7 separate regions of the Homo sapiens genome follow, and regions 1, 2, 4, 5, 6 and 7 are each linked to region 3. Evidence: promoter capture Hi-C in 16 types of primary human blood cells and fetal thymus (Javierre and others, 2016). All regions are on one chromosome and are shown on one strand. Each heading gives the region's core, a stretch centred on a gene start or on the middle of the fragment in contact. The rest is flanking DNA. Distances are from core to core; before and after follow the strand shown.

Region 1 (3,640 bases), core at 414-2,913, 190 kb after region 3:
AAATATGGACTAGCTTTTATCTCATTGCGCAGGAACATAACATATTGTGTTGGATTTATTGGGGAAGTTAAATTTGAATTGGCTCTGCTATCTATGATTTGATTGAGAGAAAAAGTATAAACAAAGATAGCTGTAAGCTTTACCCTCGAAAATAGTTGTACCTAGTGATTAAAATTAGAGCAGTATTCAAATGAATAATAAAAAGATAAGTAACTCAATTAAAAATGGGAAAATAATCTGAATAGACATTACTCCAAAGAAGACATACAATTGGCCATTAAGTACTTAAAAAAGATTCTCAACATTATTAGTCATTAAGCAAATGCACACCAAAAACTACAGTGAGATACCACCATATCTCATGGACAAAAACAAGTATTGGCCAAGCTGTTAAGAAATTGGGAATCTAGTACATTATTGGTGGGAATATAAAATCACATAGCTGGCCGGGCATGGTGGCTCATGCTGGTAATCCAAGCACTCTGGGAGGCTGGGGTAGGAGGATTGCTTGAGCCTAGGAGTTCAAGACCAGCCTGGGCAAGATGGCAAGGCACCATTTCTACAAAAAATAAAAATTAAAAAAATCGGAAAAATCACACAGCCACTTTGGAAAACAGTCTAGTAGTTCTTCAAAATGTCAAACATAAAGTTACCACATAATGTAGCAATTCCACATACCATAATTTAGCATTCCATAGCAATGCTAGATATATAATTAAGAGAAATGAAAATACATGTCCACACAATAACTTGTTTGTTTTTTTTTTTTTCTGAGATGGAGTCTCACTCTGTCACCCAGGCTGGAGTGCAGTGGCACAATCTTGGCTCACTGCAACCTCCGCCTCCCGGGTTCAAGCAATTCTCCTGCCTCAGCCTCCCGAGTAGCTGGAATTACGGGTGTGCACCACCATGCCTGGCTAATTTTTGTATTTTTAGTAGAGATGGAGTTTTGCCATGTTGGCCAGGCTGGTCTTGAACTCCTGACCTCAAGTGATCTGCCCTCCTCGGCCTCCCAAAGTCCTGCTGGGATTACAGGAGTGAGCCACCATGCCTTGGCCAAGAACTTGTACATGAATGTTCATAACAGCATTATTCGTAATGGCCACAAAATGCAAATTATTCATATATTATCAACAAATGACTAACAAAATGTGGTATAGCTATACAATGGAATAATATTAGGTAATAAAAAGGAATAAAGTACTGTTACATGATACCACATGAATGAATCTTGAAAACATGCTAACTGAAAAAGCCAAGCATAAAGACCATACTTTTTATGATTCCATTGATATGAAATGTCCAGAATAGGCAAATCTATAGACACAAAAAGTAGATTAGTGGTTGTTTAGGACTAGAGGAGGTGGAGTGGAGAATGAGGAGTGACTGCTAATATATGGATACATTTTGGTGACAAAATATTATAAAATTAGATTGTGGTGATAGTCTGTGAATATACTAAAAACCATTGATTGTAAACATTAATTGGGTGAATTTTATGGTCTGTGAATTAGGTCTGAATAAAGCTGTTTAAAAACTTAAAAGTTAGAGCCGTTAAAATAGGGCAAAATAAGGGCATATATTCCAATGTACTAATAGCTGTAATTGAAGTTTGGTGTGTTATTTTTCGTAGCCTCCAGTATAAAGATTTAGCATGGCTCTTTTGCAAGGGTACATGCATATCAGTGCAGTGTTCAGATATTAAAAGCCTTTATTGAAGGAAATAAGAGAAGACCTGAATAAATGTGTAAAGATGTGAAGATGCAATGTTATAAAGACAACAATTCTCTGTAGATTTCCTAATAATGTAATGAATTCCCAGTCAAAACTCCAGCAGGACTTGCTTGTAATATTATAATGACTAACTCTGAAATTCATAAACAAGAATGTAGGTGTAATAATAACAACCCCACAAAAAGAGTGTTTAATAAAGTAGAGAACTTGCCCCAGTTGGCTTACAGGTCTCGGAAAGCCATGATAATAAAAACGGTGTGACTAGTGCAGAGAGAGGCAAATATGTGATGGAACAAAAGAATGCCCAGAAACAGACCTGAGCACGTATGGAAAATTGCTGTGTGTAAGAGATTGCAGAATAATCCAGTATGTCAAAGTATCATAATTATGGAATCAACGCATGTCAGTGAGGAAATCAGCAAGATGGTAAACCTGGTAACAGCATTTGGAGAACTGAGGAAAGAAAAAGTGTTGAAATAAGGTTTGTTATGCACAACACTGGTTAACCTCCGGCAAGGTAATAAAACCATAATCTTACCACACAGAAATTATTTGCATATCTACCAGATTAAAAAATCTACAAGTTAACATAATTTTACAGAGTATAGGTTTTAATAGTAAATAGCAAGCCAAACAAGATATATACTCCCTAGGGAATTAAATGTTCCTTGGGTGGGCCTGTCAGACAGTGCTCCAAGGTGACCTTGAGAGGACATGCAGTCTTCCTTTTGCCTTGTTTCCAAGCTCTTATAACAAGTAGATGAGTTATTTCTTGCTTATCCATGCAGGAAAGAATTAAATGTAGCTCAGACTGTACACAAAAATGGATTCTAGATTATATTTGTGTGTTTGCAATAGTATTTTCTCTACTTTATGTATTTGAAGCATTTCTTATTAATGAAATGAGAAAATGCATTCTTAAAACACTAGACAGTACTTTCAATAAATGGGTTATGTCTATATCTAAAAAAATCCTGTTTAATAAAAAAATTAGTTTGTGGCATGATATGCTTATTGTGATATTAACATAAATCTAGAAATACTGTAGAATTTCCATGAATTCGTGTACATGTGTATACAAACATAAAGAACTTGAAGAATCTGAATCTAATCTTTTATACCTCAGAAAAGATGAATAAAATGTAACATTATTTTGTTAATAATTATTATATTCTGCTAAAGTCAAGTCTGTTGTGCCAGGTAAAGATACAATAATTTTAGCTTTTATTAACAGATTAATTTAGGCACAGTAATATTTTAACTAGTTTGTTTGAGCATAAGTGATTCCTGAATTGAATATCATTAGAACACAAGCAGTTCAGTGTTCTACTTAAGGAGTGGGAGGGGGAAACTTATGAAGTATTTAAAGAAGCAAGACAAATAAAATACTTGACTGGAACAAGTGGGAAGTTCTTAGTTAGAGGTGAGTTGGCGGTTTCTGATTGGCTAAGCTTAAGTTTTGTTTTTACTGTTTACGGTGAGTTGAGTTTCCATTTGCTCGTATAGGAACCATCTTTGCTGAAGGCCTCCCAATTCATTATTACTGTTTTTATTTTTTGAGATGGAGTGTCACTCTTGTCACCCAGGCTGGAATGCAGTGGTGCAATCTTGGCTCACTGCAACCTCCGCCTCCCGGGTTCAAGCAATTCTCCTGTCTCAGCCTCCTGAGTAGCTCGGATTACAGGCACCCACCACCACGCCTGGCTAATTTTTGTATTTTCAGTAGAGACGGGGTTTCACCATGCTGGCCAGGCTGGTCTCAAACTCCTGACCTCAAGTGATCTGCCTGCCTCAGCCTCCCAAAGTGCTGGGATTACAGGCATGAGCCAGCGTGCCCAGTCCCAATTATTTTAGCACTTTGAAACATATAATATTTACCTGGCACACCAAATTTATGTTTATATCT
Region 2 (4,198 bases), core at 763-3,262, 170 kb after region 3:
CTCCCTAAGAACATAACTTTGATTTAGGGCAGTCAAAGTTGCTGTCAATTTTAAGATGTATCTTGGGGTTAGGGATATTCCATGATGAAAATTTGTGTGTCATAGAGTCAATGGTATATAGTAAATGGAAATAAAAGTTCTTTAAAAAGCTCAAGGTAAACAGCATTCCTGGTGTTTTTTCCTTGTTTCTGTTACCACTGGGCTTGCTTCTCTTTGTATTTTCTTTTGTCCTGTTAGATCTACTCTAATGGTCTGCTGTTGTGTTTAGACCTGCCACTGTGAAGTTCTTCATATAAATTCACAGGGGGAAGGAGAATGTGTGTAGTACACGTTTTAAGATATAGATCCTATAAATGCTGCTTTTCACTATGAGGAGTGACAAGATTTCATCACTTGAAGGAAAGCCTCTGAAGGAAAGCTCCTTAGCAACACTTTGGTGCAATTATCTCATCTTACCAAGGAGGTCCCAGCAGAGATGGAAGACTGAGTCGTGGTTGGGGTGTTGCTGGTGCAAAGTGAATGACCAGTGAACCCCTATGAGCAGGATCTTTGTGACTGTGGTTGCCTTTCTGCAGGCTCAGTGTCCTCTCTGACTTTCTCAGCCCTGGTAGCAATGCTCAGCTTGTGTCTGAAAGCCAGGACTTTGCTCTTACACTGAGTTCCTTGCCTCCTCCATAAGTAACCTTCTTGACATGGCTGCTGCTCCCTGCTGCTGTCTTGGGCTATTTTGGTAGTTGTAATGGGAAAGAGGTCCAATCATTGCTTCTTTTATCACTCACTAGGATGTTTCACAAACACATTAATTTTTATGTCCCAAACTGAACTCTTGGTATCCACCTCCTTTGTTTATCTGAAAACTTTGCCTTTTCTGTAAATGTCTCCACCCACCATCCACCCATTTGTTCAAGTCAGAAGCTTGGGAGACATCTTTGATTCCTTTCTTTTCTTTTAATTTCCACATTACCAAGTCTGATGATTTCTACCTCCAATATATATTTCCCATCCGTTCACTTTCCTCTCTCTCCGCTCTATTACATTAGCTTAAGTGACTATAAGATTTTGCTTGGACTACTTTAAGAGCTGGCTAATGGTTAATGTGTGTTCCCGCTTCTTTTGTTCTCTCCCTCTACTTTTCCAACTGCACCCCACTTACTCTCCATACAGCAGCCCAAGTTATCTTATTTTATTTTTTTTGAGATGGAGTTTTGCTCTTATTGCCCAGGCTGGAGTGCAGTGGTACGAACTCGGCTCACCGCAACCTCTGCCTCCTGGGTTCAAGCGATTCTCCTGCCTCAGCCTTCCTGAGTAGCTGGGATTACAGGCGCCCGCCACCGTGCCCGGCTAATTTTGTATTTTTAGTAGAGACGGGGTTTCTCCATGTTAGTCAGGCTGGTCTCGAACTCCCGATCTCAGATGATCCACCCACCTCGGACTCCCAAAGTGCTGGGATTACAGGCGTGAGCCACCGTGCCTGGCCTAAAATTATTTTTAAAAATAAGATAATTTGCGTCAGGCACGGTGGCTCATGCCTGTAATCCCAGCACTTTGGGAGGCCAAAACGGGTGGATTGCTTGAGCCCAGGAGTTTGAGACCAGCCTGACCAACATGGCAAAACCCCCTCTCTATAAAAAATACAAAAAATTAGCCAGGTGTGGTGACACATCTGTAGTTCCAGCTACTTGGGAGGCTGAGATGAGAGGATCATTTGAGCCGCAGAAGTCGAGGCTGTGTTGAGCTGTGATGGTGCCACTGCACTCCAGCCTGGGTGATAGAGTAAGACCCTGTCTCAAAAAAAAAATTTTTAATATGACCAATTTTGAACATCTACAGAAAGTAAAGAGGATAGTAAACCAAACCTTATATACTAATCACTTAGCTTCTATAGTTGTCAACTCAAGGCCAATCTTATTTCATCCATATCCTATCCCCAGATTATTTGGAATCAAATCCTAGACATGATAATTTATTTCTACCTCTAAATATATTAAAATATATTTCTTCAAAACAAAGACAGTCTCTTTCATAATTACCATTCAGATACCAAGATCAGGAAATTAACATTGATATAGAGCTATAGTTTAATCTGTATGCTTTATATGACATCATTTTATCTGTATTTAGCTTGCAAAGGTCGCTTTTTAAAAAATCACAAGACTGTTGTCACACCTAAAACATAATAATATCCGTCCAGTAACTGGTCAGTGCTCAAATTTCTCCGACTGTCTCATTTATTTTTTTAACAGTATGTTTGTGTGAATCAGGACAAGAGTGATCCTTTTAGAAATTAAATGGGATGATGTCACTGCTTGCTTAAAATCCATCCATGAGTTTTCCTGTCTAAAGCTGAAGACCCAATCTACCTTTGTTCATAAGGTTTGAGGTGGTTGGGCTCCCACATACTGCTTCTGCCTCATCGAGGGCAACTCTTGCCCTCATGCATGACCCTCCAGCCACAAGCCTTATACAGTTTTTTGTGAGAGTAAACCCTGTGCTGCTCCGGATTGGAGCGTGTTTGCCCTCACTCTTTTGAGGGCTTTTTGCTGGCCATCCTCCACTCTCAGCTGGCGTGTCCTCCCACTTTCTCAGTGACTCCACCAAAACAGTTAGTCTTCCCCCATTTCTCTGTCTTGGCATCTTGTTTGTTTCTATCACTCCATTTCTCATTTTGCAGTTAATTGTTACTTGTTTTTTGATCATCTGTTTTTTTGAGCTCCAAGTTCTATAACGATGGGTCTGATCTACTTTGCTTGTCATGGTGTACTTGGCACCTATGCACCATGCTTGTCACATAGTAGGTGCTCAGTATATATGTGTTGAAAAAATGAATGTGTGAAATTAATATACTGTCTTAGTCCATTTGGGCTGCCGTAACAAAATCCATTAGACTGGGTAATTTATAAACAATGGAAATTTATTTCCTCACTGCTTTGTAGGCCGCAAGGTCCAAGAGTAAAGTGGCAGCAGATTGAGTGTCTGGTGAGGGCCCATTCCTCATAGATGGTGCCTTCTTTGTGTCCTCACGTGGTAGAAGGAAGCAGAAAATAGTGGAAAGAGGGGAAAGAAAAAAAAAAGAAGAAGGAAAAAGGGCAAAGAGACTCCCTCAAGCTTTTTTGTTAGGGTACTAATCCCATTTACAAGGGTGGAACCCTCATGACCTAATCACCTTCCAAAGGCCCCACGCCATCACTTTGGGGGTTAGGTTTCAACATATGAATTTTGGAGGGACACAAACATTAAACCATAGCATGTACTATTAAGAAAATATAGGTGGATCCTCAGAGTAGACTGCTAGGATTTGCAGTAAATTAAAGAAAAAAATGTAGCCACCATTGAGTTCCTAATGAGTATAGGGCACAGTGATAATTGCTGTGATTATTCAAATGGTTAGTTAAGGGATCTTTTGGAATACACAGTTAAAAAAAAAGACTGTGGCTGATTGTGTTCATAAACTCAAATGCATATATAATTAAATAAAGTCCAAATGTTTGGGCATAGTAAACACTATCCATAATTGTTGGTGTCTCCATTGCCATTTTTCTCTGAAGGGCTGACTCAGTTTTCACTTGACGTTTGCATAAATGAGTGTCAGAATCTTAAAGGATACAGTGAGCTCATTGCCTTTTGTTAACTTTTTACCCTGTTTCACCTGACATCCTTTTTTTTTTTCTGACGCCTTCATCCATTCCCTTTTCATCTACCTCACGATAAAAATAGGAACCTAAGATGACTAATAAAACACCCAAAAGCATATACTTGGGAGCTTTGTCTTTTGAAATGCGCCAAACTTCTTCATTGCTTGTGTTCCGAAAATCATCAGCCTCTCTGGTCTCCTTTCTTTTTCCTTCTTCCCTCTTTCCCCCTTTTGTCTCTGCTTGTGGAACATTATTCTACGACCAGAGAATAGAACTCCTCAAAGGCATAGTGATATTTGGTTTAGGTACATTTTTGAATAGTGTATAGTTCAGTACCATGCATGATGCACATCTAATAAATAGTCTGAAGACTTAATAGCCATCAACAAATTGGAAGAACCCTGAAATTGCCTAAAACTGAAGAGATATTTGGGGATTTACATATAACTTTTATTATTGTATAAAGTAATTTCTATGTTATTTATTTTATTTTTATTGTCTAGAATGAAAATATTCATACCAGCAGCGGTCTTTTAAAATTACCTGATGAGCAGAATGTTATAGTT
Region 3 (4,036 bases), core at 1,015-3,514:
AAAATAAATCTGGAAAGGCAAATTTGGGATATATGTGGAAGGCTTCAAATGTCTAGCTAAGGAGTTTGAAATTTTTCCATATAGGAGATGTAGGGCCATAGACCATTTTTAAGCAAAATGGCTTGCTCAGGCGACAGCATGATGGATAAATCAGTGGGAGAAATGACTGTACTTATCAAAGACACTTAAGAACCTTGCACAGTGCTCCAGGTGTTGCTGCTGTAAAAGTCAGCAGTAGGGACCAGGGGAACAGATTTAGCAGTTATTATGAAAGAAAACCCAAGTAGAGTTGAAATGACTGCCTGAATATTTGAGGGGGATAATAGCGTAGGATCAAGAACGACAGAACATAGCTGAGGTAGTATGAAATAAGTGGACTATAAATTGGAAATTATAAATTTCACTATTACATGCACAATTTCTCTATATTATCATACAACAGTGCCTCTCAAAGAGTGGTAGGCAGACCAGAATTCATCTATGACCTATTTGTTAACCAATCTGTACAGAAAATGACAGTAAGCATTTAGAAACTTCCATTATCATTGAATAATTTTGTCTATTGAATTTAATTAAAAATTTGAACTTATATTGTGTTTGTCTTTTTTAATTCCATTTTTCTAGTAATTCTTTTTATAGTATTTTATCAAAGCATAAATCTGTCAAAGATTAAAAATTTTTAAAAACAAGAACTGTCCTTTACCACAAATAGTTTGAAAAACACTGTCAGAGTATTTAGGTTGCCCCCCAGATCTAAGTAGATTACCTCTATAAACAAACATTCAAAAATATTAAAAAATAAACACAAGTTTGAATATGGACTGAATATTATAGATTATGTATTTACGGTTTTCTTAGGTATAATAATACCACAATAATTATGTAGGAGAATGATACTTTTAGAAGCTATATGCTTATGTATTTACGGGTAAATTATCATGTCTAACTTACTGAATGGGGGATAGCAAAATGAAAAAACACACAGCAGGCATCCCATACACACGGCTAAAGTAAATATGGTCAAATATTAAGAACAGCTGAATTTAAGGGGTGGGTATACAGACAACAATCAATACTGCACTTTCAACTTTTCAAAACATAATGTTGAAAAAATGTTTAAATAAATAGGTCATAAAAACCAAGTCCTCCATACCCCAAAGTCACCAGGTCAGTATTCTCCGGAATGACTTCTGGATCCTCACCGTCCTCAAGGCATTTCAGTTTATCAAGGCTAAAACAAAAAGGAAAAGCAATACTTTAAGGTCGACTCTGCATCTGGTTCACAGCGAGTTAGGGTTGTTTTCCTAAATACATTACTGAATTACGAAGTCAGATAAAATCCAGCAGGCGGCTCAGAGAGGCCAGAACTTAAGACAACGATTTCTGTGATTATATTTTATAATGAAAAGGCCGATGAAGGCAGCCAGTACTGTTAAATGGAGAAAGAGATTAAAGTTATTTTTATATTTTCATCCCCAAATAAGGCACTTTTAAGAAATATTTCAGTAACAGAATACCCGGAAGGTCCCCAAAAGAAACCAGTTAGTCGGGGTTTTAACACTCCTCTGATGAAGTCTCCCGCAGCTTCACCATTACTCAGGTTCCTCCATTGTCAAAGTGTCTGTCAATGGCAGGTACACGTCGCTGTTGCCCTGATTGCTTTTCTTTATTAACAAGCACTCTTAGAATAAGCAAATGGAAAAACTAGTCTTTGATGCAGCTGTCTTGTCCCTTTGCTCCAACTCGTAGAAACTGTGCATTCGGGTCCCAGGACTTCTCCTGGTGTCCCAGGAAGGCTCCAGCGGGTTGAAAGCTTTAAAGGGTAATACTCCTAGCCCAGGTCTAAACCACAGGCCCTTCTCAGGGATGAGTCCCAGAGGAGCGCACGAGCAAGGCTGCACCCTGTTTGACCCCAAGCTGCAAGAGCCCCTTTGCTCCGCACTCACCCGCACACCGCCCTCAGCTCAGCCGCCGCCTCCAGGCTGCAGTCCAGATCCCTGGCCACCGCGGCATCCTCCCGGTCGGAGTCAGCTGCCTGGCTCCCAGGCAGAGCGGATGCCGGCGGCTCCCTCAGCGACAAGTCCCCGGCCCCGCGCAGACGGCCCCGCCACAGCTCCCCAAAGGCGCCCACATGGAAAGCGCGCGTATTTAGCTCGGGAAGCTCATACTCTGGAAAGTTGCAGCCGCCACTGCCGGAGACTGGGTCCTGCCTGCCACCCACCCCGCTACACGTAGGGCCACCTCGGCTTCCTTCAGCCATGTTCGCCCCACTCCTTCCCCTGCAAAAGCCTGCAGATCAAGGCCTCGCAGAGCGTGATGGAAGTTGTAGTTGCTTGGGGCGCCCGGCCGGCGAGCGGCGAGGCGGCGCGGGCAGGGCATCAGAAACTACATTTCCCGGCAGGCCATGGGCAGGCCCGCCCCAGGGCGCGGCACCGCGAGGCTCTACGTGCAGGGCGCAGCATTGTTCTCCGACCCGGGCGGTGCGGGAACCGTTGCGGCTGTCGGTTAACCGCAGCGGGTGGGGCTGGGTTTCTGGTCCCCGAGTTACGTAGCAACTGTCTCTGCCCGGTAGGGCGGCCTCGCCAGGCGCTTAGGCCCCGTTCCTTGCGGCTTTCGGACTAAGGGGTGCAGGGCTTTTTCTTGACTGGGGTTCAAGGACTGCTCTGCTGCCTGATTGCTTTAGAGCCTAAGAAACAAGGAGGGCGAGGGCCGAGACCAGGGACACGACCAGCCCTCCAGATCTGGTTCTTTCACAAGCTCCGCAGAGGCCCCATGTTGGTGTGCGTGTGCAGTAGTGTTTCAGAGCGTCTGTGTATCACACGCTACATGATTAACCCTAATGTATGTTTTTAATGTTTTTAAAAATTACAACAACCTTTCCGGATAGGGCGTATCACCCCGTGTTGCTGTTGAGGAAGGATTTACCTGCGGGGAAAATAGAAGCAGGATCGGAACTCAGTCTGGCTTCAGATGGAGCTCTCTCCATTTCTCAGAGGCCCTGAAGGATACAGCAGGACATACTATTTATTTATTAGACTGTAATCACATGCCATATAATTCACCCATTTGAAGTGTTCAGTGATTTTTGGTATATTCACAGGCTTGGGCAACCATCACCACTATTTGAGAGCATTTTTACCACTCGAAAGAAGAAACTTGTACTTTTTAGCTATCACCCCTGATCCTCCCAACTCCTCCAGCCCTAGCCAACCAAGAACCTACTTTGTCTCTCTAGATTTAACTAATCTGGACATTTAATATAAACGGAATTATATGGTCTTTTGGTGGCTGGCTTAATGTTTACAAGGTTTGTTACAGGTAGTTAGGCATGAGCAGGGCAGGAGAGGGCTCTTCCCTCACCCACTAGGAATGTGGGGTGATGCTTAGGCATTTATCACATTGCCTCTAAAAGTGATAAATTGGCAGCCGGTGCCAGGGAGAGGCCATTTCCTGATGGCCCACACCTGTTGCACTAAAGTGCTCGTTGAATGCAGGTGACAGGGAGAAGCAACTTCCTGGGCATATGCATTAAGAGACAAAATCGGGGAGTATGACCTTTCAGGGGGACTCTATCGGAAAAGGGAAGAAAGCCTCAGATGGGCACGCATACAACTTCATACATATTGCGCTGTGCTCACTTCCCAAGGGTAAGGAGGGCACTGCGCATGGAGGCAGCCCACCCTAAGGGAAGAATCATGGGAAAGGAGCCAGCCTGTAAAGTCCTAGGATCGAGGTCAATATCACAGTTGACCTCAGTGACAGCTTGGGACTCTTCCGAGCGTGCTTTCCTTTCTTTCCTAAAGGCCTTTTAAATAAGCTTCCACTCCTGCTCTGAAACTTGCCTCAGTCTCTTTTTGTGCCTTATTGCCCCTCGGTCAAATTCTTTCTTCTGAGGAGGCAAGAACTGAAGTTGCTGCAGACCCATACAGATTTGCCCTGGTAACTTGGATACCTGCCACCTGTAACACGTTCATCCATTTTGTAGTATGTGTCAGTACTTCATTCCTTTTTTGGCTGAATAATATTGCATTGTATG
Region 4 (3,934 bases), core at 983-3,482, 230 kb after region 3:
CCACATGGGACACAAATATCTTTACATTTTCTGCCCATTCAGAAAGATCTGACCACGTACTTCTTCCCCAGACCTCTTTGTCACCAATTTTCCAATCATGATCCTTCTAAGCCCCTGCCCTTCCAACCAAACCATTGTCTACATCCCCTGAATCAGCATATAATTGCACATCTGGCCATTTCTCCTTTCAAGCATAGTGCATAACCAGGTGCACTGCCCAGGGTTCTGCCCACTGGAAGGATATTCCCTCACCACTGTCCTTCAGGAATATCCCAGAGAGAAGTGGTAGTGCTGCAGCTGTCCACTTCTGGGTGGTGTCTACACATCACACAGACTATGACTGATTTTTGCTTCTGGGAAAGGAAACTAAGAAACCTTGCCTGGATGTGGGCTTTGAGGGGTTACCTTCTTGTCACTTCATCACACCACATCAAAGGTCCCAGTATTCTATAGAGAACCCTGGAAAGACCAGGCTTAAAAAAAACTTTTTAAAGGTTCCTTGTCTTAGCTAAATGAAATTAATTCATAAATGATTGTTACAGTATGTGGTAACAGAAATATCTGGTGGTTAAAACTTGTTCCCAATTTCTCATGTTATTGAAGCATTAAAACTGTAAGTTGTTAGTTTAGATTTGTTTGCAGTTAGAAACACTAACACATAAGTACACTGTATATTTTTTTCTTACAGATGCTGTCCCTTTTACCAGCAAGGATTATCAGACTACTAGAATTTATTGGATTTTCTGGGAATAGGGTACAAATTTAATTTTATGTTAATTTTGACAGGGAAGATAAGACAGTATTTATTGAACATGAGGGCAATGCAACATGTCTGCATAACTACCTTGATAATTATTGGCAATTTGTTTGTAGGACAGAAAATAAGCCTTTGATTCTTGATCATGTTTTTCAGGACTTAGACATAGTTTTTCTGATGAAAGTTAAAAATGTTCACCCTTGTTATCCAAATTCTTGGATGAAAAATTATGTGTTGCTAATATTGCTTCTTGCTAGATCTTATTACTCTCACGTGGTTTCCTATGCTTTCTTAATAGTTGACCAAAGATGGGAGGGGTGGGGGAAGAGAGGGTTGAAAAACTACCTGTTGAGTATGATGTTCACTCTTGCGGTGATAGGGACACTAAAAGCCCAGACTTCACCACAGCGTAATATATGAAATCTGTACTTGTAACCCCCCTAATATATAAAAATGTTTAAAAAGTTTCTGAATATGATTTTCCAGTCTTGTTCTCTTTCTAAAAATGCATTTAATTCCCATAGGAGTTGGGCCTCCTGCAGTTACGTGAAGGTGCTTCAGGAAGGAGCATGAGGTCTGCACTGTGCTGCTTAACCATCTTAGCTTTTCATACTTACATCTCCCTAATACTTGGTAAGATCTGGATTAGATTGTTTCATTGAACATTGATTGTCTTGGCCAGACATGGTGTGTTACACCTGTAATCCCAACTACTTGGGAGGCTGAGGTGGGAGGATCAGTTGAACCCAGGAGTTTGAGGCTGCGGTGAGCTATGATCACGTCACTGCACTGGATCCAGCCTGGGCCACAGAGCGAGATCCTGTCTCTAAATTAAAAAAAACAAAACAAGACAAAACATAAAGTTGATTATTTTTAATCTGAGTAAGTAAAAATTTAGAAAGATCAGCAAGAGCTAGTAGTTCATATCTGTTTACTTTTTTTTTTGAATAAAGGTAGAAAATAGTGTCCTTTGTCATAGTGACATTTAGCAGAAGGAGTAGGGTAGTTTCTTTCATTAAATAATTTTCATCTGTTCTCAGCTAAAATTTCTATATTAAGGTGATCTATTTTATCATATATGAGATTTTTTTCTTTGCAGAAAATGAAATTTTGGGCTAAATAAGTTAATATTGCTGTTAAAACCAGAAATTCCAATTAGGAATCTGAGACAGCCACCTGCATTCTTAAGAATTAGTGTGTCCTAGAGCTTTCTTAAACTAAAGTTATAGGTGAGACTGGTCTTTATTTTATTCCCCAGATATAAAAATGATGAAATAATAGTTTTCATCTTTTCCATGAGTAGGTCTTTACTGTATGTTAATGAAATTTGGAGAGCTGGTTATAAATATCCCCATGTCTTATGAAGACTGAGTCTTTTCCTGTTAAATTTCTAGGTACAGGAGAAGTGAATGTTGCGGAAGCAGAGCGTCTCCTGGCACCCTTCCTCCAGCAGTTTCCAAATGTACGCTCAGTATTTCAAAGTGTATGTTTCAACCATAATTAATCAGCCAGTGTTGACTGTTGAACAGTGTGTTTTCTTCCTTGCTCTGCAGGGCTCACTCGTGTTGTTTTATCATGCCCGAATAGAGTTGCTGAAAGGGAATCTTGAAGAGGTAATTTATTAGGTGGGAATTATTTGGGGGAGTTGTCTGTATGGCGACTCCTACATGAGTCGCTGTGACCTACTTATTCAACAAAAGTAAACTTGGCTATATGGACTAGACAAAAATAAAGAAAAAAATATATAAGTAAAAAGCCAAAACTTTTAACTTGTATATACATTCTATTATATAAAATCTATGCAGTGGATTACTGAATATAGTCTACATTTATACATAGAGTACATTAAGCACTTTAGGGTAATATATACCAAATAACAAGCTCAGGGATTTTCAAGAAACTGTGACTGTTACCAATTTCTGCATTACACACTGACTTTGGAATCTAGCCCCTGTGTGACATGCAGGTCTACTACGTGTGGGCTCCGTATCAAAGGACCCCTCAAAAAACGAATTCCCTCAAAAACGAAGCGTCGAGGTCAGAAGTAGAAAAGTAAGGAGCCATTTATGTATATACATTCACAAACCATTTTTTCCACACAAATGGGATCAAAATGTATTTTTCTGTGATTTTTTTTTCACTGTTTACAATATGTCTTGGATCTCTTTCCAGATCAGTATGCCTAAATGTCTCCTATTCTTTTTGATGGCTGGGTTTCATTTCATGGGATGGATATACTATACCTATTAAAGTGGTCCATAGACATTTGGCCACTACAAACTGTTGTGAACATCATTGTATGTATATTTCTGTGCACAGGTACATTTATAGAAGACAGATTATGATTAGTAGAATTCCTGGGCCAAAAGGTGGTTGCATTTTTATAAATCCAGCCAAATTGTCCTCCTCACTTAAGATTGTTCCAGTGTAAACTCCAGTAAACATATAAAAATATTTTTTTCCAATGCTCTTTGCTGGCTCAGGACATTACGTGATGGCTAAAAATGAGAATCTAATTTTTAAGTTTATATTGCCTAGTTTACAAATTTATCCACATGTATATCTGTCATCTATATATTTTTTTCTGATTTGCCTATTTACATCTTTGCCTGTTTCCTGTTGAGTTTTCTTTTTCTTACAGAATTTTATTAAATTGATGAATGATAAAAGAGTTAACCTTTTGCCAGTTACGTAGATAGTGACATCTTCTTCCTGTCTGTTGCCTGTAACTCTGCCTACAGTGTTTTGTCCTATGGAAGTTCTAACTTTATTGTCAGTCTTTTCTTAAATGATTTCTGCATTTGATATCTTCCTTGGAATGGAACCTCCCCACTCCCACATTACAAAGTGTCAAGGCCCTCTCACAAAATTAAAGAAAGAGGCAGAACTTAACTGTATCATTGCCTGTAAGGAAAAGAACATATCATCATATTGAGAGGTTTAATGAGTGATAATTTTGTCCTTTTTGTACTAAGTGTTTTATGTATTTTTCCATTAGGTTATTATCTCCTTGTCTAATATCTGGACGATCAACTTTGTGTACTTGATTTACAGGCACAAGAAGTATTTCAAAAATGCATTTCAGTTCAAGAAGAATGGAAACAGTTTCACCATCTCTGCTACTGGGAGCTAATGTGGATTAATGTTTTCCAACAAAACTGGATGCAGGCATATTAC
Region 5 (4,026 bases), core at 1,419-3,918, 250 kb after region 3:
AAATAATACAACTTTCTTATTTCTAAATGGAGTCATTTTCTGAACACATTTGTGTTCAGAAAGATGATCTTGCCATTTCTAGGGTTAATCTTTAAAGATCCGTATGCGCTGATTTACTTAAGAGACAGCGATCAACCATCAGTGCTGGGTTTACATTAAGGAATAAAAGATTAATATAGGAAAAGAACATTATTTATTGCCATAGTTTAATGAGTTCCATAACTATACAATGGCCGCCTTTCTATGATAATAGACTTAGTGCTGCACATGTTTTCTGAAGAATGGGAATAATATATATTTAGAAAAATGTGTATTTCTTGTTCTGTTAAGATTTACTTGATTTTCCTCTGCTCTTTCAGTGAAAAGCTACTGAAGTATGACCACTACCTAGTGCCGTTCACTCTATTTGAATTGGCATCTTTGTATAAAAGCCAGGGGGAAATTGACAAGGCCATAAAGTTCCTAGAAACTGCAAGGTAAGTGTTGAAGGCAGCTTTTCCTTGATTGTTATGGAGTCAGAAATGTCAGTACTGCTCTAACAACAGCAGTAACATTATATACTTAACAATTAACAATGTCAAATTAGTAATAATGCTACTTTTGCTAACTTCTGGTTGATTTATGCTCATGGCTTTTGCTGTAATTGTGCTGTTTCCAACCCTCTTACTGCCTCACCCTGTGACTGTTTACAGATATGATTATGGGCATCTATTTGAAAGATTTCTAACTTATTTTATTCTATATCAGGGGTTGGCCAGCTTTTTGTGTAAATGGCTAGATAGTAAATATTTTTAGCTTTATAGCATAAAGTCTCCATTGCAACTACTCCATTATATCAAAAGAAGTCATAGAAGGTAATATGTAAACAGATGGGTATGTTTAGATTTGGCCCTTGGGTCCTAGTTTGCCAACCTTCATTGTATTCAGCCATACCTATTATTTCCTTGAAGAGCCATTGATCTTGTGAAGCTTGCAGATCTTACCCAGACTCTGTTTTTTCTGTTTATTGCGGCAGTTTCAAAGTATTTTTATCAATTCTGGTAGACAATAGCTTTTAGACCTGTGGTCATGGATCACTTAGGTAAGGCAAAAACCCTGTGGCCTGTTTGCCTTGAACACTTTCTGCAGTAGAGAAAGAATGCCAGACTAGCTCTAGGTCATAAACAGTGATTTGTCCATTTATTCAAATTCAGCAGTTATTCACTGAGCACCTATTATGTGTCAGACACTACTAGTAAAGGCTTTAGAGAGACAACTATAAACTAAGCAGGCAATACTTCTGCTCTGTTAGCCAGAGGGAGATACTAAATAGACAAGAAAAATATCAGTGGTATATGTTTGCTGAGATTTATAATATGATACATGGTGCCTGGGTGTTACTTCAGGATAGATTGATTCTGAAATATTTCCTTGGGGAAATGATATTGTAGCTGAGATTTGCATAATTAAAGCCAATCTTGAGATCAGTCATCAGAAATCAACCAACTAGGTAGGGAGCATTCCTGACAGAAGTCACAGTTAGTGAACATCTGCATTGAGGAGGTTGAGCCACTGGGTCAATGATGATGCTTTCTGCTGTGCTGGGGAATACTTAGAAGAATGTATTTGGGGAGAGAACGAAACATACTTCTGTTCAGACCATGATTCTTTAAGATGGCTATTAGGTACTCATATTAGGTAGATGGCAAGTTGGCGTTCATACTTAGCATGAAGTTCAGTGATAAGGTCAGGGCTGAATGTAGAGATTGCAGTCAACAGCACAGAGACAGTAATATTTAAAGCAATGGCGTGTGATGAAGTCATTTTGTGAATGTTATATAGCTAGAGAAAGAGGTCTAGCACAATGTCTGGGATATGCCATCTTCTTAGACATTAAATGATAAGATTAAGAAGATTAAGAGAGTTAGGAAGACATCTAGGAAAGCCAACCAAATAGTGTTTCAAAAAGAAGAGCATGGTCAGTTATGAGGGCAGCAACTAAGAGGTCAAACAAGTTAAGACCAGAAAAGTGGCTGCTGAATTTGGCAGCATGAGTATCATTGGTGACCTTGACAAATGAGGTGACAAACAAAATGGAGTCCGCTACTTTAGGCAACTCTTTTAGGATGTTTGCTGTGAATAGAACATCGTAATGGGGCAAAAGCTTTACGGGCATGGTAGAGCCAAGAAGGGCTTCCTTAAAATATTTATATATAGGTGATATGAGAGCAAGTTGCTTTTAAAGTTAATTTGTTGGGAGTATGACCAATATTTCATGTGTTAGATATAGATATCTTCAAATCCAGCTATTGGAAAATTATGGATTATAAATGCTGCTGTTCCAAATATTCATTATTTGAATATACAATGTATAATAAGGCAACTTTATAAGATAAAAATAAAAGACTAGTAACTCACTGCTAAAAAGCAATGAAAAGCCTCCACTAACTCAAGACAATACTGACAATTCAAACATAAAGATACTTCCCAGTAATTCCAAGACTATTATCTGCACTTTCCCTTTATGCATTAGGAGCTTTGCAAAGTTGCCCACATTGGTGGCATTTAGGAAAATACTCAATTCCATCTGTCGGTAAACTCCAGTAACATATTGATTTTAGTTTATGAATAATACATTTTACTAACCCACATCAAGATTACCAGTGAGTAGCCCTTATACCTGTTCAAAATGAAGGGCTATAGAAATAAGTGCCACTGTAAAGAAAGCAGTTATAGCTCACCCATGGGCCAAGGCAGTATGTAAAAGTATTCCATTTTTCTGATTCTTAACAATTCTGGTAAAGGGAGGTCAACATAAATGCTCTTAGGCAGGTTTTAAATAATCTTTGGATTTCTATGGCCCCCTTTAAAGACATTGGCCTAATTCTTATGTAATTATTGGCCAAACCATTGATATTTACATGTGAGAATTGGAATAAGTAATTTTGACGTCATTAAGTAATTCTGCTGCCTTTGTTGCAGTTGTTTCATTTGAGTTTCTTGAGTGATCGATCATGTGATCATGCTAACCATGTTTATATGCACCTACCTTAAAATTTTCCAATTTAAAAAAGGAAGTCTAATTATTTAGGACTAGTTCACAAAATTTGTACAGCCCTTCTCACAACTTCTTGCTATGCTTGTGAATGATTTGGTAATTAAGCAGAACCTTGCTACTCAAAGTATGACCTTTAGATGACCACCAGGAAGCTTCTAGAAATGCAGATTATTGCAGTTCCCCCCAAAACCCCCCAACAGAACCAGAATCTGCATTTTACTAAGATCTACGGTTATGTATATTAGAGTTTGAAAGTAAGTAAGTAGATCAGAGAGAGGAATGGGAGAGTGGTGGTACCTGGTATATAAGGAAATTTTGACTGTACAATTTTATTGTTATTGTCTTCAGGAACAACTACAAAGATTACTCCCTGGAGTCCAGACTACACTTCAGAATTCAGGCAGCTCTTCACCTCTGGAGAAAACCTTCCTCAGATTGATCAGAACTTGAAGGATGGAATTTTTCCTCAATTAGCATCGGCATCTGCTATAGATTCAACCTTATATTAAAGTGGAAAAATGATCTTGTGAATAAGAGACAAAAAAACAGTTTTTTTGGTCAATATTTTCTATCATCTGAGAGATTTACTGTTGGTCTACATAATTTTTTTTCCTATGGAATGGCATTCTATATTATCTAGAAAATTCTTATATTTTGCCTCCCCCAAAAGAATTTCATATTATTTGAATTAGGGGGCGAAGAAGTCTTTTGAAAGACTTGCAGATGCAATAGTCTAATTAGATTATTTATTTTTTTAATGTGAAAATTAATATTGTTTAGCAAATAGCTTACAAGTTGAGCCAATTTTGGATTTGTTGGGTAGTTAAACTTCAGAGATATTTTGTTGCCTGTATTTAAATTTCAGAAGATAAATAAATATCATTGCATTTAAAATAGCTTAACAGTGACCTTCAGAAGACTTCTGAAAAAGACAGTCTGAGAACATGAACACGGATCGATATAATGTACTTCATGGGTTGAAGAGACCT
Region 6 (3,773 bases), core at 255-2,754, 220 kb before region 3:
ACTCAGAACACGGGAACTGCCATGTAAAAGAGAAGAGGAAGGAAGTCCAACTGGTCTTGGAAGTGAATTGGTCAGGAAGTCCTATCCACTTTATTGTACCCTCATAGAAGTCCAAACATTTTACATTTATATTCAATCCCATTAAACAAATGTGACTGCATAAAAACAAAAGATTATTAAAAACAAATGAATAGGTTTATAACTTTTCATGATGATCTCATTGATACTTATTTTACTATATAGGTCAACTAAAAAGCAGAATGGAACATTTATAGAGTACCTACTATATGCCAGATGCCATACTAGGTCCTTGGCCCAAAGGCCAAAACGAGTCCTGACACATCTATAAGCATTTCCATTAGGAGTAAGCAAAAGACCTGTGTTGTAGACAAAAATTCATTTGTCGCTAAAGGATATTCCTTCTACTTACTTCTCTGAACTACAATTCATCTGTAACTGTTTTATTAATGGCCAAAACATATTTGTTTTCCAGAATCCCCTAGATTATTTTACATAAACAGGCTCATATAAAGCATAGCAGAACATAGAAAGATTCAGAGTTCTCTGTGCCAGTCATCTTGATCATGATTAACTATGCAGTTCTGAAGGTAGAAAATTCAAAGTTAAAGTCACTGAGGATGGTAACAGAGCCTTAACGGTTTCAGAAGGGATATATGAGGACAATAGGCTGACAATAGAAATAAACTGGAGAACACTGTAATTTTTTTATTCAGCAAGAAATGAAGTATACCACTCAGATTATAAAAGAGTTTAATGAAGAAAAAGTTTTATTACTTCTAGGTATAATCAAAAAACCCACAGATAATAAAAATAAGAAATATCAGGAACAGAATTTGTGGTCGCAAATTCTGATTAACATGATAATAAACTGATTTACCTTCTTTAAAAATTATCTCTACCTTTTCTGGCAAAAAAAACTTGAGTATTTACCAAATTTTTAACTGAAGTTCCAATCTTAAAATTTATTATAAACATAAAATGCTGCATTTAAATGTGTAATACCTATGACTGTATAACACAGGTGATTTCATCATTTACCTATTTTATAGTTAGTAATCTATGCAAATGGACCTTTGAAAATGATTCCTACAAACACATGATGGCTTTAAAAAGATGAATCATACAAGGTGGTCTTTATCAACAATTATGAAAGGTAAAATACAACTTTTCCATTTTCAGTTGAAGATAGTACGCATTTAGAGAAAGATGCTACCTTTTACCCTTTTTTATGTTACTATAATATAGAATATGACTGACAGAAGCAATTCAGAATTTATTTGCAAAGACTGTTCTCTCTCTACCATAATCTTCAGAAGATTCTTCAGTTCTCTCAGAATTAGGTTTGCATCTTCTCTTTTCTCTTTTCTTATTGAGTTAAGCTTATTTCCCATGATAATAAACTCCCCTAGTTGTAAAGAGGTTTATAAAAGCCATGGATATTTCTTTTTCCAGTTTGCTTTTCCCTTGATTCTATGGTATCCAGTACTGCATTTATAAAATTGGATTGGGAGTTTGTTTGTTTTTTTTTAATCTAAGAAAGCATTGATCCATGTTAAGATGATTAAGACACAGTGATATAAAGCTTATAAGATTTTTAAATTCTTTTATATTTATGTTTCATATATATAAAAACTTCTTTGGCTCAGGCACATAAAAAAATCACCTTTCAAGAAATGCAACTGTTAAAAAGCTTCACTAGAATTTAAAACATTCATTAGGCTAAATGTCTATTTTATTAGTTGCTTTAGTTTGATATTGCTGATATTAAATAATGTACTTTATTAAATTAAAATTTTAACAACTTCTTCTTTATTATTATCCCATCTTACCTTAATTCTCTTAAAAATACCACTAACAATTACTTAAGTACCTAGTATTACTGGTAGTGATTGTCTCCGCAATTGAGTGTAAAACTAACATAAAATGCTCTCCAGAAATTTAACTTCTTGTTCATTATGTCACTATGTGGTCAAACAGCCAACATAAAATATACTAACTAATATACAACACATGATATATAATATAAAGCAAAGCTTTTAAAAAGAATCTAAATATGAGAAATCATAGGTAACTTAGAAGACTAAAGCTCTCCACTTGTAAAATTCTTACAAATAGAAGAAAAATAAAGACTATCTAGACTACCTTCAAAGCTTCAAGTTCTCCAAAAGCAGAGACCTGGTATTATCAAAAGTATTTACACAGCAGTAAAGAAAAAAACATAAAGTAAAAATATTGTGGAAGTCAGTGTGGTGATTCCTCAGGGATCTAGAACTAGAAATACCATTTGACCCAGCCATCCCATTACTGGGTATATACCCAAAGGACTATAAATCATGCTGTTATAAAGACACATGCACACGTATGTTTATTGCGGCACTATTCACAATAGCAAAGACTTGGAACCAACCCAAATGTCCAACAAGGATAGACTGGATTAAGAAAATGTGGCACATATACACCATGGAATACTATGCAGCCATAAAAAATGATGAGTTCATGTCCTTTGTAGGGACATGGATGAAATTGGAAATCATCATTCTCAGTAAACTATCGCAAGGACAGAAAACCAAACACCGCATGTTCTCACTCATAGATGGGAACTGAACAATGAGATCACATGGACACAGGAAGGGGAACATCACACTCTGGGGACTGTTGTGGGGTGGGGGGAGGGGGGAGGGATAGCATGAGGAGATACACCTAATGCTAAATGACGAGTTAATGGGTGCAGCACACCAGCATGGCACATGTATACATATGTAACTAACCGGCATATTGTGCACATGTACCCTAAAACTTAAAGTATAATAATAATAATAATAAAATAAACAAAAAAATTTTAAAAAGTAAAAATAAAACCAGTCTATAATAATATTATACCTATAACATCAACCAATAAAAACAGATATTGAGGAAATTAAGTATTTTACAGAAAAAAGTCAATACCGGGTTGTGCACAACCACACCTTAAAGTTTAGGTTTAGATATTTTCTTTTTTGTGTGCATTTTATTACTTTTTCTTTTGTTTTGTTTTTGAGATAGAGTCTTGCTCTGTTGCCCAGGCTGGAGTGCAGTGGCACAATCTCGGCTCAGTGCAGCCTCCACCTCCCAGGTTCAAGTGATTTTGCTGTCTCAGCCTCCAGAGCAGCTAGGATTACAGGCGAGCGCCACCATGCCTGGCTAATTTTTGTATTTTTAATAGAGATGGGGTTTCACCATGTTGGCCAGGCTGGTCTCAAACTCCTGACCTCAAGTGATAGGCCCACCTCAGCCTCCCAAAGTGCTGGGATTACAGGCATGAGCCACCACGCCCAGCCGATATTTTCTTAACTGAGTCAAAACTGCCTTACCAAGAACCCTAAAAACAAAAAAAAATTCGTTATTACATAGTACAGCCTCACAACTATAACACAATTAATAAAATGTTTTTAGTGATGATAGAGTTTTCTAGCATCCTTAAGTGACTTCTAAGTGATCTTTTAAATTCTAATATTCAGAACATTAACTCTATCCTAAACCTTTTTTTTTTTTTTTTTTTTTTGAGGCAGGGTCTCACTTTGTTGCCCAGGCTAGAGTACAGCAGCACGATCACAGCTCACTGCAGGCCCAAACTCCCCAGGCTCAAGTGATCCTCCCACCTCAGCCTCCCAAGCAGCTGGGACTACAGGCACATTTCACCATGTTTGGCTAAGTTTTGTATTTTTTGTAGGGATGATATTTCACCATGTTGCCAAGGCTGGTCTTGAACTCCT
Region 7 (3,651 bases), core at 615-3,114, 180 kb before region 3:
CCAGTAAACATAACACACACTAACATGATCTAGGTAGCATTTGTTACATTAATGGTATTGCTGGGTTATATTGGGCATTGAGTATATATAAATCCCTGGGGGGGTTGTATGTTCAAATATTTGCTTTAAGTTTATGGCTTTATCAATATCATCCAATCCTGAGATGCAATGTAACACTCAAGAAAATCCAAAAAAACTACAAAAATACCTCATGCAATTTACAGAAAAACTTGCCTTCATCCCAAATAAATGTAACTTTAAAATTTTTGTTACAGAACATATTTTCCAATCACACCAAAAGCTACCTGCATCTTTATTATGTGTGTCTGTGTGTGTGAAATAAAATCATATTAAGGACACTGGAAATTGAGGGAAGTTCTTCTTTTTTCCACTAGAGGGGGCTGTTGAACTTAAAATATTTTAAAATGAGGCTTGTTTTTGAACTGACATTTAATATCACAGGAAACTACATTTGGCTGTTAGAAAATAAACTTGCTTTCTTTCCACATCTTCCAGAAACGTAGCCCAAAAAGTATAATTCTTTATATATACTCATATAAACAACATTTCTCAGAATCCAAAATACAGTTCCGTTCCAATTCTGAAGAATTACACTAGTTAGAAAAGTATCAGAGTTAAATGTACTCCTCTTTTCTAGCTTATAAAATATATCAATATAGCTAACTACAACCTTAATCTATTACATTATTATCTCCTGAAAGACCCAGAACAAGTTCCTCCTCTCTAAGTCCCCAAGGCTAGCAAAGTTCTACAATTACAAAGTGTTTGTTGCTATAGAGCATAAACTGGTGCTTTGTATAACATTTATCATAATTGTGAATCCATAAGCTTGAAAATGAAACAATTATATTTCTAGGCATTTACACGAAGAATCATTTGTATGACTGCTCAAAGATATGGACAAGAATGTTAGTGAATCATTAATTAGAGCTAAAAATTTTGAAAGAAATAAAATGTGCATCAATAAGAGATTACTGAAATACAATATTCCCTCTTATCTGCGGTTTCATCTTCCCTTTCAGTTACCCTGAGTCAACCTAGGTCCAAAAATAAGTGAATACAGTACAATAAGATATTTAGAGTGGGAGAAAGACCACATTCACATTACTTTTATTATAGTATCTTGTTATGATGGTTCTATTATTAGTTACATCGTTAATCTCTTACTGCGCCTAATTTATAAATTAAACGTTATCATAGGTATGTGTGTGTATAGAAAAAAACACAGCATATCTGCAGTTTCAGGCATCCACTGGTGTCATGTAACATATGCCCCACAGGTAAGGGAAAGGCTACAGTATGTTAGGAAAATCCACATGACAGAATGCCATGCAAATACTAAAAGAATAAGGTATGAACATCAAAAGATGGAGGCAAAATATTATTGAGGTGTATCATTTTATTTATGTAAAAACGTAATGCTTCTATATCCTGACATGAGGAGCGAAATCAGAGGTGAAAGGGGCAAGACCCTTACTTTCTTGCTTTTAAATTTCCCTAAATTAGGGACTTTTTTTTTTCTTTTTTTTTTTTTGACAGAGTCTCGCTCTGTCGCCCAGGCTGGAGTGCAGTGGTGCGACCTTGGCTCACTGCAACCTCCACCTCCTGGGTTCAAGCGATTCTCCTGCCTCAGCCTCCTGAGTAGCTGGGATTACAGGTGCGTGCCACTACTCCCGGCTAATTTTTTTTTTTTTTTTTTTTTTAGTAGAGACAGGGTTTCACAGTGTTGGCCAGGATGGTCTCAATCTCCTGACCTCATGATCTGCCCGCCTCAGCCTCCCAAAGTGCTGGGATTACAAGCATGAGCCACTCTGCCCGGCCAAATTAGGGGCATTTTTATAACAAAGTTATCAGTGTCAGAGTCCTTTTCTATGCCATTTGTTAATAGGATACCAGTACATAGTTTTCCAGAAGAAAAGAAATGCTCCTTGCTGCCCTTGATTATTTAAGGTAAACTTCCTTAAGGTGTTTACCTGTCATACATGTCAACATATGTTAATGTGTTACATAAATAAAATTATAAGCCAGGTGTGGTGGCTCACTCCTGTAATCTCAATACTTTGGGAGACTGAGGCAGAAGGATCACTTGAGCCCAGGAATTCAAGACCAGCCTAGGCAACAAAGGAAGACCCCCATCTCTACAAAAATTTTAAAAATTAACCAGGCTTCGTGGCACATGCTTATGGTCCCAGATACAAAGGAGGCTGAGGTAGGCAAAGGCTGCAGTGAGCTGTGATAGTCCCGCTGCACTCCAACATGGGCAACAGAGTGAGACCTTGTCTCAAAAATATAAAATAATAAAACAAAATAAAATTATATTCCTAATATTTTGCATCCATCTGTTGATGTTCATATCTTATTTCTGTGTGTATTTGCATACTATTCTGTTACGTGGATATTCCTAAAAACACTTTCTTTTCACGTAACTTCCTCCGAGTTGTCACTACATCACAATCATACTTACTGGGTCAGCTTTTGATATGTTGCACCCCAATCCCTGGATTGTCTTAAGGCCTATCAGACCATGCCTACTAAGGGTGGTCTGATAACTTTCTTCACTGCCTCCCTACTCTTCCTCCTCTTTCTATAGTTCATGGAATTATTTTCAAGCTACACTTCCCATACCGTCACAAACTCCCCCATGCTTCAATCACTAGACACATACACCAAATTTAGTCGATGAATAAGGAAAGGATAACTGTATTCCCTGGTTGAGGTATAGAATTTTGGAAATGAAATAAAAATGAAAACATATATATTCATCTTCTAAATGTTTTCAATCCCACTGATAAAGTATACGTGAAATTAACTGGAAAAATAACAAAGGAGGGGCATGATAGTTTAGAAACAAAGCTTTATCACTGCCTGTCCCACAATAGAAAAGCTTGTGGCAGGGCAAAGATTTCATGACAAACTCACCATAAGCAATTGCAACAGAAGCAAAAATTGACAAATGGGATCTAATTAAAAACTTAAGAGCTTCTGCACAGCAAAATAAACTATCATCAGAGCAAACAGGCAACCTACAGAATGGGAGAAAATTTCTGCAATCTATCCATCTGACAAAGGTCTAACATCCAGAATCTACAAGGAAATTAAACAAATCTACAAGAAAAAAAAAAACCATCAAAAAGTGGGCAAAGGACATAAACAGACACTTCTCAAAAAAAAAGACATACATGCAGCCAACAAACATGAAAAAAAGCTCAACATCACTGATCATCAGAGAAATGCAAGTCAAAATCACAATGAGATACCATCTCAGGCCAGTCAGAATGGCAATTATTAAAAAGCCAAGAAACAACAGATGCTGGCAAGGTTGCAGTGAAAGAGGAATGCTTTTACAGTGTTGGTGGGAATGTAAATTACTTCAACCATTGTGGAAGACAGTGTGGCAATTCCTCAAAGATCTAGAACCAGAAATACCATTTGACCCAGCAATCCCATTAATAGGTATATACCCAAAGGAATATAAATCATTCTACTATAAAGACACATGCACATGTATGCTCATTGCAGCACTATTCACAATAGCAAAGAGATGGAATCAACCCAAATGCCCATCGATGATAGGCTGGATAAAGAAAATGTGGTATATATACACCATAGAATACTATGCAGCCATAAATG

The links. The method cuts DNA at HindIII sites, captures the fragments that hold promoters and counts their contacts. A CHiCAGO score of 5 or more calls a contact.
Region 1: a fragment that was not itself captured here is called in contact with the fragment with the promoter of SNAPC3 in region 3 in 7 of 17 cell types (activated CD4 T cells, M1 macrophages, M2 macrophages and 4 more); the score reaches 11.9 in activated CD4 T cells.
Region 2: a contact is called between a fragment that was not itself captured here and the fragment with the promoter of SNAPC3 in region 3, in 3 of 17 cell types (M1 macrophages, non-activated CD4 T cells and total B cells). The highest score is 6.4, in M1 macrophages.
Region 4: a contact is called between a fragment that was not itself captured here and the fragment with the promoter of SNAPC3 in region 3, in 3 of 17 cell types (non-activated CD4 T cells, M1 macrophages and M2 macrophages). The highest score is 6.8, in non-activated CD4 T cells.
Region 5: a fragment that was not itself captured here is called in contact with the fragment with the promoter of SNAPC3 in region 3 in 2 of 17 cell types (M2 macrophages and M1 macrophages); the score reaches 6.8 in M2 macrophages.
Region 6: a contact is called between a fragment that was not itself captured here and the fragment with the promoter of SNAPC3 in region 3, in 2 of 17 cell types (megakaryocytes and fetal thymus). The highest score is 5.3, in megakaryocytes.
Region 7: a contact is called between a fragment that was not itself captured here and the fragment with the promoter of SNAPC3 in region 3, in 13 of 17 cell types (fetal thymus, non-activated CD4 T cells, naive CD4 T cells and 10 more). The highest score is 15.7, in fetal thymus.

What each region holds. Positions count from the first base shown.
Region 1 is chr9:15,228,117-15,231,756 of GRCh38, reverse strand. The region is part of intron 2 of TTC39B (tetratricopeptide repeat domain 39B); the gene reads left to right. Among named protein-coding and RNA genes, the nearest start is that of TTC39B, 77 kb to the left of the region's middle. The HindIII fragment of the contact is 3,048 bases long and covers 140-3,187 here.
Region 2 is chr9:15,255,057-15,259,254 of GRCh38, reverse strand. All of the region lies in intron 2 of TTC39B (tetratricopeptide repeat domain 39B), which reads left to right. Among named protein-coding and RNA genes, the nearest start is that of TTC39B, 50 kb to the left of the region's middle. The HindIII fragment of the contact is 2,190 bases long and covers 918-3,107 here.
Region 3 is chr9:15,421,104-15,425,139 of GRCh38, reverse strand. SNAPC3 (small nuclear RNA activating complex polypeptide 3) reads right to left here and starts at 2,264. Exons shown (of 9, transcript NM_001039697.2): 1 at 1,947-2,264; 2 at 1,154-1,231. The coding sequence starts at 2,260. RefSeq lists an enhancer at 1,788-1,907 and a silencer at 2,248-2,537. The HindIII fragment of the contact is 2,004 bases long and covers 1,816-3,819 here.
Region 4 is chr9:15,188,010-15,191,943 of GRCh38, reverse strand. TTC39B (tetratricopeptide repeat domain 39B) reads left to right here. Exons shown (of 20, transcript NM_152574.3): 10 at 689-754; 11 at 1,282-1,390; 12 at 2,152-2,219; 13 at 2,311-2,370; 14 at 3,812-3,934. Among named protein-coding and RNA genes, the nearest start is that of TTC39B, 120 kb to the left of the region's middle. The HindIII fragment of the contact is 5,799 bases long and covers 1-3,934 here.
Region 5 is chr9:15,171,469-15,175,494 of GRCh38, reverse strand. TTC39B (tetratricopeptide repeat domain 39B) reads left to right here. Exons shown (of 20, transcript NM_152574.3): 19 at 360-476; 20 at 3,386-4,026. The coding sequence ends at 3,476. Among named protein-coding and RNA genes, the nearest start is that of TTC39B, 130 kb to the left of the region's middle. The HindIII fragment of the contact is 1,046 bases long and covers 2,146-3,191 here.
Region 6 is chr9:15,636,539-15,640,311 of GRCh38, reverse strand. All of the region lies in intron 7 of CCDC171 (coiled-coil domain containing 171), which reads right to left. Among named protein-coding and RNA genes, the nearest start is that of CCDC171, 85 kb to the right of the region's middle. The HindIII fragment of the contact is 203 bases long and covers 1,403-1,605 here.
Region 7 is chr9:15,603,589-15,607,239 of GRCh38, reverse strand. The region is part of intron 6 of CCDC171 (coiled-coil domain containing 171); the gene reads right to left. Among named protein-coding and RNA genes, the nearest start is that of CCDC171, 52 kb to the right of the region's middle. The HindIII fragment of the contact is 2,025 bases long and covers 852-2,876 here.